Linked DNA regions of Homo sapiens: region 2 is linked to region 1. Evidence: promoter capture Hi-C in 16 types of primary human blood cells and fetal thymus (Javierre and others, 2016). All regions are on one chromosome and are shown on one strand. Each heading gives the region's core, a stretch centred on a gene start or on the middle of the fragment in contact. The rest is flanking DNA. Distances are from core to core; before and after follow the strand shown.

The links. The method cuts DNA at HindIII sites, captures the fragments that hold promoters and counts their contacts. A CHiCAGO score of 5 or more calls a contact.
Region 2: a fragment that was not itself captured here is called in contact with the fragment with the promoter of SLC19A3 in region 1 in 1 of 17 cell types (naive CD8 T cells); the score reaches 5.7 in naive CD8 T cells.

The regions. Positions count from the first base shown.
Region 1 is chr2:227,715,565-227,720,113 of GRCh38, forward strand. It overlaps SLC19A3 (solute carrier family 19 member 3), which reads right to left and starts at 2,464. Exons shown (of 6, transcript NM_025243.4): 1 at 2,379-2,464. RefSeq lists an enhancer at 1,995-2,881. The HindIII fragment of the contact is 1,627 bases long and covers 1,125-2,751 here.
Region 2 is chr2:227,133,352-227,137,900 of GRCh38, forward strand. All of the region lies in intron 4 of COL4A4 (collagen type IV alpha 4 chain), which reads right to left. Among named protein-coding and RNA genes, the nearest start is that of COL4A4, 29 kb to the right of the region's middle. The HindIII fragment of the contact is 4,592 bases long and covers 29-4,549 here.

The DNA.
Region 1 (4,549 bases), core at 1,214-3,713:
ATATGGTACCATTCCTTTTAATTTGCATGAGGTGTTTGCTGGTAAATTAATCATTTCCTTCCAAATTCTGTTTATTCTGTTATGTCTATGTTCAGATCAATCTAGTCTTAGGGAGAGCAGGAGGAATATGCCTAAGAAAACCATAAAACTAAGAAAAACATAAAACGGCTTAGAAAGTCAACTGAGCCCAGCCTGGGCAAAATAGCGAGACCTCACCTCTATAAAAAATACAAAAATTAGCTAGGCATGGTGGTGTGTGCCTATAGTGCCAGGTAGTTGGGAGACTGAAGTGGGAAGATTGCTTGAACAGGGAAAGTCAAGGCTGCGGTGAGCCGAGATCCCAGCCACTGCACTCCAGCCTGGGCAACAAGAGCGAGACTCCGTCTCAAAAAAAAAAAAAAAAAAAAAAAATTTCAAAAACCCCAAACAAAACAAAACAAAAAAGGAAAGTCAGCTGACATCTAATCCTTGAGATGCAGTGAAAGTTTCTGATTAAATGCACTGAGAGAAGGTGGTGTTGTAGGGAAAAAACTGGATTAAAGAAAAATTAGAGGTCATTTGAGCTATTTTACAACTCTGTAAATTTTAACAACTGATGGCAATGTTAAGTAATTATTGTCTATAGACATGCAAATAAGGTTTATCCCATGAAGGACAACAGTCTTCCTTTCCCCCATGGAAAACCAGTTTCAATATTCCTGATCTATATTTCATTATTCAATATTCCTGATCTACGAATGTACCCATTCTTTGGGTTCTTCTTTGATCTGGCTACTACAGACTCATCAGTTTCGTCACTAATAAGTGCCGGGACTCAGAAGCCGATACCCCAAAATATGGGGCTTTGACATGCTGGAGACCTCAAGGTCTCTCTGACCTTCCCGGCTCCCAGCTCAAAAAAACCTTTGTCTGCCTAAGATCCAGACCCACCAAAAGGAACAACTGTTTCTTTTCCCTTCCCTGTAAGACCAAGAATATACCCCACACCTGAACAGACCCATTCACAAGATAATGTAGCTTATTCTCTCCCCTGACCCATTCATGCTCCCTAGCAGAAGCCCATCCACTTCTGCTGGATGCTCTTCGGCTCCCTCCCGTAACCTCATTTGCCAGGGTAGTCTATAAGCTTCTGAGACATGTTGCAGGGTGGGTAATCAATCACTCTGATTCTCCCTGTGTGCATGTTAAATAAATGTGTATGCATTTACCATTACACAACCTTAAAAGAGTGTTGTTGGTCTATTAGCAATAATGACTGAAGGAAATTGGTATTTTTGTCCATTTCAGCTACTACTAGGATAATCTTATAAGATATTTGGGAAGTTATGTTTTGGTCTATTTAATATATGTGCCTCGATGAAAAAAACACCTTTTGCCACAGGAGACACCAATGTTTCAATATTGATAGGAGCAAAACACATGAGAGTGCTTTTTTTTTTTTTTTTTTTTTTTTTTTGAGGCAGAATCTTGCTGGGTCGCCCAGGCTGGAGTGCAGTGGTGCAATCTTGGCTCACTGCAACCTTCGCCTCCCAAGTTCAAGCCATTCTTCAGCCTCAGCCTCCAGTGTAGCTGGGATTACAGGCACCCGCCACCATGCCCGGCTAATTTTTGCCTTTTTAGTAGAGACGGGGTTTCATCCCAGGGCCAAGCTGGTCTCGAATTCCTGACCTCAAGCAATCCGCCCCGCTCAGCCTCCCAAAGTGCTGGGATTACAGGCGTGAGCCACTGCGCCTGGCCTGAGAGTACTTTTAGAAAACATTATTCCTTTACCTTTTTCAAACTTGAAGCACTCCGAAAGTCCCAACCTTTTGCACATTTGCGGCAGCGACATTGATTTGGTAAACAGCTGTCACACTATTTATTATTTGATGACTTAGGTATCCTTTCCAGCAGTGTTTTTGTAAGGTGTAGTTGCGTTTTCTTTTAGTTTCAATTAACTAAATTTCAAGTGGTTCCCAAAAAAGCCCCTGCTCTCTTAAATTCAAACTCACCTTCCTTTTTCCCACTAGGAAGGACCTTTTCTCCATCCTTGGATTGGAATTTGGAATTCTATGCTAAAATGCCTTTTCAGTTAAAATCTGTGAACGTGGGATGTAACCATAGGAGGTGCTGGCACTTTACGGGAATCATGATTTTATTTAATCTGCGCTTCCAGAAGGCTGCAAATGGGAATTCCAGACAAACCCACTTGGGTGAATCCCAGCACGCGGGCTGCGGCGTAGGGGGAGAGCTCCTCACGCGGCTCAGAGTGTAGCCCAGGCCCGCAGAGCCAGGAACCCGCCCCCAGCTCTCCAAACCCGGGAAGAGAGAGGCGACACTGCTAAGACCGAGGGATGACGGTGCTTCTTCAATTAATTCGCCCCCCGAGATATTCTTACCTACAGAAGGGAGTGTCTGTTCACCAAATCGCTCACTTGCCGCACGACCACGCACCCGCGGCTGTCGGATGGATCCAGGCGCTCTTGGTGGGAAGGGGGCGGAGCCTGCCTGGCCCGGAGCCCGGGGCCACGCCCCCACGCTTTGCATATGCGAATCCGGGCGTCCAGACCTTTCATCCCAGTGTGGAAGCCCAGATTTTCCTGGCCCAGGGCCGGTTTTCTGGGCAGAAACAGTCAACTCTGCTGAAAGGAACAACTTAAGTAATACACTGACATTCAGCATAATGAAGCAAGAGGGCCTGAATCCAACAGCGATCGTTTGCTTTATTTACAAATATGTCCTTTCTTATGAATCCATTTATTTCTCTCCAAAAGCTTAGGAGAGAGGGCTGGCTGGCTGTCACCCCCACTCTACACATGAAGAAAGTGAGGCGGAAGGAAGTAGGCCTAGTAAATAGAGAAGCCTGGGTTTTAGTTGGGGCTCCTGGCTCCAGAGCCAGTGGTTATAATCACTCTGCACTTTTTTTTTTTAAAGGAGGTAGAGTGGGATGGTTTCCTGGCACTTTGAAAATCTGATACAAACAATTTTTTCTTTTCTTCTTCTTTTTCTTTTCTTTTCTCTTTTCTTTCTTTCTTTTTTTTTTTTTTGAGACAGAGTCTCCCTCTGTCGCCCAGGATGGAGTGCAGTGGCGCGATCTCGGCTCACTACAACCCTCCGCCTCCCGGGTTCAAGCGATTCTCCTGCCTCAGCCTCCAAAAATTAACGCCCAGTTAATTTTTGTGTTTTTAGTAGAGACGGGGTTTGGTTTCACCATATTGGCCAGGCTCATCTCGAACTCCTGGCCTCGTGATCCGCCTGCCTCGGCCTCTCAAAGTGCTGAGATTACAGGCGTGAGCCACCGCGCCTGGTCTTTTTTCTTTCTTTCTTTCTTTCTTTTTTTTTTTGAGATGGAGCCTCGCTGTTGTTGGCCCCGGGCTGGAGTGCAATGGCACGATCTTGGCTCACTGCAACCTCCACCTCCCGGGTTCCAGCAATTCTTCTGCCTCAGCCTCCCTAGTAGCTGGGATTACAGGCGCCCGTCACCACACCCAGCTAATTTTTGTATTTTTAGTAGAGATGGGGTTTCACCATGTTGTCCAGGCTGGTCTCAAACTCCTGACCTCAGGTGATCCACCCGCCTCGGCCTCCCAAAGTGCTAGGATTACAGGTGTGAGCCACAGCACCCGGCCACCTGGCCTCTTTTCTTTTCTTTTCTCTTTCTTTCTTTCTTTTTTTTTTTTTTTTGACAAAGTCTCACTTTATCTCCCAGGCTGGAGTGCAGTGGTGCAACCCCAGCTCACTGCAACCTCAATCTCCCAGGCACACTGATCCTCCTGCCTCAGCCTCCCAAGTAGCTGGGCTTGCAGGTGGGTGCCACCACGTCACATTAATTTTTTTGTTTTTTTTTTTTGGTAGAGACAGAGTCTCACTATCTTGCCCAGGCTGGTCTTGAACTCCTGGGCTCAAAGGATCCTCCTGCCTTGCCCGCCCAAAGTGTTGGGATTACAGGCATGAGCCACTACGCTTAGCCTGCAAAGAGTTTATATATTAAAGTGAAACTTCTTATTAAACAGAGAATTTTTTTAAAGCATTACAAGGTTCTTATTGGTTAAAATGGAAAAAATATTTTTATTTCTGTTCATCTCTTGGTGGACTTGAAAAACCCTCCCTAAAGATAAACACTGCGTGGCTTCTAAGGGCTACCAGTGGAAGTGAAATGGATTAAAACACCCCGAGGTGTCTTGGTTCTCTGTCCTACGACTCTGCGTTTTCTATTTTCATCTTCCTATGATTTGTGAAAAGTCCTGAGCTGAACCTTAGGTGTAGGAGTGCCCTGCTCATTGTGCAACCTTGCAAATTGCTGGGTCCTCCCAAAGAATATTGTGAAATTTTCTTAAAGGCTGAAGGTGTCATGATTTCCTTCACACCTCTTGAAGAAAATGAGTTCAAATTGGACCTTGAGAAGTTTACTCTGATTCTCTAATATCTCATAGCCACAGTCTAAATCAGAGAGAGATATTGAGGAATTCATTCATTCATGCATAGAAACATAAATGACACATTTGCAGATTACATGACATGACATTTGAGTTTGATCCCATACGACTGTGTGGGGAGAAGGCTGTGGATG
Region 2 (4,549 bases), core at 1,075-3,574, 580 kb before region 1:
ACATTCTACAGTGTAGTAGGCAGATAAAAGCTTCTTTTCTCTCTTTTCTCATGCACGGATGCTGGATTTAAAGAGATATTTCTCAGTCTACTGAAATGATGTTAGTTAGTTGGAGTTATTTTCCCATGTAGACATCAGCTGCTGCTGCTACTTCTACCACTATAATTTATTAATACGCCAAAAAGCATTAAATGATAGGCAGGGATCCTTCCTTTACTCTCTAGGCCTCCCAAACCCTGTCCAGAAATCCTTACTCAAGGCCAGGCGTGGTGGCTCACGCCTGTAATCCCAGCAGTTTGGGACGCTGAGGTTGGCAGATCACCTGAGGTCAGGAGTTTGAGACCAGCCTGGCCAACATGGCAAAATCCCATCTCTACTAAAAATACAAACATTAGCCAAGTGCGGTGGGGGTGCCTGTAGTCCCAGCTACTCGGGAGGCTGAGGCAGAAGAATTGCTTGAACCCAGGAGGCAGAGGTTGCAGTGAGCCAAGATAGCGCCACGACACTCCAGCCTGAATGAGAGAGACTCCATCTCAAAAAAGAAAAAAAAAAAGAAAAAGAATTTAAAAAAGAAAGAAATCCTTACTCAAGCCTACACAGATCATCCTATAGCTGAAGATTCAGGCTTTAACTTTTGCAAGTTTTTTATTCTTCAGAAATCAAGGTTCCTGTTCTTGACACAGGGGGGACACTTTAACAAGCTAAGCCCACATTATAAACTGGAAGCTGGTGGGCTGAATTTTACTGGGGAGTGTGTTTAATTGCTAGGCACTGGGTTTTTTAAAAATTCTGAATTCTGATGCCTTTAAATGACAAATGCACCGTCCAGCTCCTAGTAGCCCCATCCTGAGCACCTCCTCTCCCCATTACTACATTCAGGTCACCAGCTGTTCCCCAAGGACATCTGAGTCTGCCATCTCTGACAGGGACTTCATTTACCAGGGAATTCTCCAGTAGTAACAAAATGAGCCAGAGAGTTCTTGGAGGAGGAAGATATAGCAAGAAGAACAAAAAAGCAAACCCAACAAGCTCAGGGGTTGAAAGACCACCTTTGCCAACTTCTAATTGTCACTGGAACTTGTTTACATCAAAATGGAACACAATTGACTTAAGTGAACTTTGGGGACATAAAAATTATTGTTCTGAACCATGTATCAGGCTACAGGTAGAAAATGTCCTAAAACACAGCTGTGTGAGTGATAGTGAGACTGAGTTCTAGAACTTTGAGTGCAAGTAATTCAATGAAATGAAAAATGTTAACAGTAATTAAACTTTCCCAAGTAAATTCCATTTTTATCATGGAATGCAAGCTCTTAGGAGTATAAGGGATGAGTGAATGAGATCGCAGGGAAAATACTTGCAGTTTTTTAGTGATTTGAAATTCTCCGAAGAAAGAATGACTCACTCACGTTTGATTTTGGTTTTCAAACCAAAAAGACTAAGACAATTCTTGACATTTACGTCATTTGACCTCCGTGTTTGTAAAACCACCACATCATAAGGTTTTGTTAATTTTGCAATTGTTATACTCCCTTGAATAGAAAACAATATGGGGAAAAAACTGTGGACAGTGTCTTTATTATCATCCTTGTTACTAAAGTATAACTTATAAAAGGTCCTCATTCTAATTTGTAAGGACATGTAATTTTCCCTGCAAGGAGCCCACCAGTAAACACAGAGAGCTTCCTCCCTTGAAACTGATAAGGAATAATAGAAAATCCTGCCTGATATACCTCATTCACACCCTTAAAGATGGGCCATAGTGAGGTTCATGGAAATGTTAGGGCCTGGTCACAAGTCATTTGGGAAACCAAGTAAATAGCTGTCATATGTGAAAACCCACGCCCCATATCACAGAACCATGGGCTGCTAGAGCCGAGGGGACCAACCAGCCCCCTCTAGGACAAATTCTCACATCCCAGGTGAGGGCTCTGAACCCGAAAAAGATCAAGGAGGTAAGCTCCAGTCTCCTCCCCTCAGCCTGGAGCTCTTAGGGTGCCATTGTACCTTAAAAGGTCCAAGAGCTGCAACCCTCTTATTTGTTGCTGCTGCTCAAAGTGCTTATTTCTGACCCTACCTGAAATTCACAAGGGAATTTGAACTATGTGAGATTACTCATTTCCTAACAGGCTTAAATGCTAGTGTGTGGGGAGAAAGTCTAGGGTTGGGGAAGAGGCTCCCCACTAATTCTGTCCCCCTCTTCTCTTGGGTATGGGAGATCCCCCTACAGAGTCCCTGCATGCTGGCCTGACCACCAGCTCAGCTCCCAAATCCTGTCCAGGCTGGAATCTATTTTTTTTTTTCTTTTGAGACAGAGTTTTACTCTTGTCACCCAGGCTGAAGTGCCATGGCGAAATCTCAGCTCACTGTAACCTCCGCCTCATGGGTTCAAGCAATTCTCCTGCCTCAGCCTTCCAGGTAGCTGGGATTACAGGCGCCCGCCACCATGCCTGGCTAATTTTTTGTATTTTTAGTAGAGGTGGGGTTTCACCATGTTGGCCAGGCTGGTCTGGAATTCCTGACCTCAGGTGATCCACCCACCTCAGCCTCCCAGGGTGCTAGGATTACAGGCGTGAACCACCATGCCTGGCCCCTGAATTTTAGTTTCTTAATTTATGTGTATTAACTGCCTGTTGTGTGCTATCTACTGTGATAATCTCAAAGTACAAAAAATGACCCCCAGTTTACAAAGGGGAGAAGTGAAGGTAGGCAAACTATATTTCAAGGGTGTCCACAGTGGGTCAGGAATCAGGATCAACGTTTTACTTGTGTTCTCATGACCACCTTCAAGAAGTGTATGCTTGCAATCTAATCAATAAAGTCGGGCACATTCACTCTCAAATCCAGCCAGAGCTACAGAGCAGGGCAGGACAAGTACAGCAAAAGAGAAGCAGGTAAGCAGCTTGCTAGGGGGCTCTGGCAGGGAGACATCGACACTGACTGTGATGAGCAGAAAGGCCTTGTGGTTTGGCATCTCCACTGAGCTCCTTTGAGAAGAACAGGAAAGACAGAGGCAGAGTGCAAGTTGGAAGGCACTCAGAAAAGGGCAGAGAAGTGGAAATATTCAGATTATCTTCAAGAGTGAATGAGTGGCCCAACTGCTGCAGCTGGAGAGGGTCAAAGGGGCAGTAATGGGGATTACAGATGAAAACTCATGCTGGGGCTAGACTGTGAGCCTCCAGCAGTACAGTGATGGGGCTGGACTTCATTCTGTAGACATCAAAGGAGGCCCCCCTTGATTCTCCACCTTAGATTGTTCCATCTCCACCTCTAACTCTAGCTCTCCTCTCCAGTTAAATTGCGAACCATGGCCGTTCCTCAGCACAGAACCAGCCTTGCCTGTCAACGATTGCTTTAGACATAGCAGTTTTGATGTGGGGTTTGATGAAACTACTACCTACTACTACCTACTGCTACTACGGGCATTAACCTGTAAGAGAGGAACACTTTCCTTCTTAGGAATAGCCCGCTATGCCACTTGAAGGCTGTGCAGCCTCAGGCAGATCCCTCAAGCCTTAGGAATTTGGTGTGTTCCTATTCTGATAGTCCCCCGTGAGCTGTCACTGCAGCTCAGAAGGTTGGCCGGCTGCTGAGGACTTGACAGTGCTACTTTCCCAAACCACCTTCTGTTACGCACAAGTCACACTCCCAAATCCTCGCTGGAAGATGTCACAACGACTTGCAGCCTTCCCATGGAAAACCCATTCATCTCAGGAAGACCACAGGCTCCCTGTTGTGGCACACACAGCTCTCCTTGACCACGCAGACACAAAGACACACACAGCAGAGTGCCGCTCAGGACTGGGAGCCTTCCCTATCCAGAGACTGCTTAGAGGGTGGAAAGTACACCATCTACACATGCAATGCCTTGCGCTTGTTTAACAGCCCAAGGACATAGAAGAGAAGGACCAATGGGGGTACGTGCAAGGAAACCCAGGCTTGGTCAGAGTCAAGTGGCAACCCAAGTTTACAAAGTGATGCTACAACCCAGCAGTTGGTACCTTCGTGTAATGATCTTTCCACGATCATGGAGCAAATGCTGGGTTTGAAGCCAGACACGTGGGTGTGATTCCTGGTTCTCCTGCATCCTAGCAAGTTATTTAGAACTGTTGGGAATTTAGTTTCCTTGCTCTGAAGGGTGGAAATAATAATACTTGCATCACAGAGCAGAGGTGAGATTAGAACAGGGCTTCTCAATCTTGGCACAGTTGGCATTTGGGATGGATAATTCTTTGGTGTGGGGACTGTCCTGTGCATTGTAAGATGTTGAACAGCACTTCTGGTCTCTACTTGCTGGAAACCAGTAGCATCCCCTTTTCTGCTAAAACAACTCTCAGCCTCATTCACATTGGGAGACCCACTGAGGTGCCTTTATCAAAGCAACTGGTCCTCTTTGTTTTGGGGTCGGCTCATCTCTTTCTTGCCACAGGGCTGATCAAATCTATTTATCTTGGTCCTGAAGCTCAAAGTCATAAAATTTAGAGGCACTGAGGTTTTTTTTCCTTTTTGCATTTGTACAATCTTGGTATATTTACATTAATAACCTCAC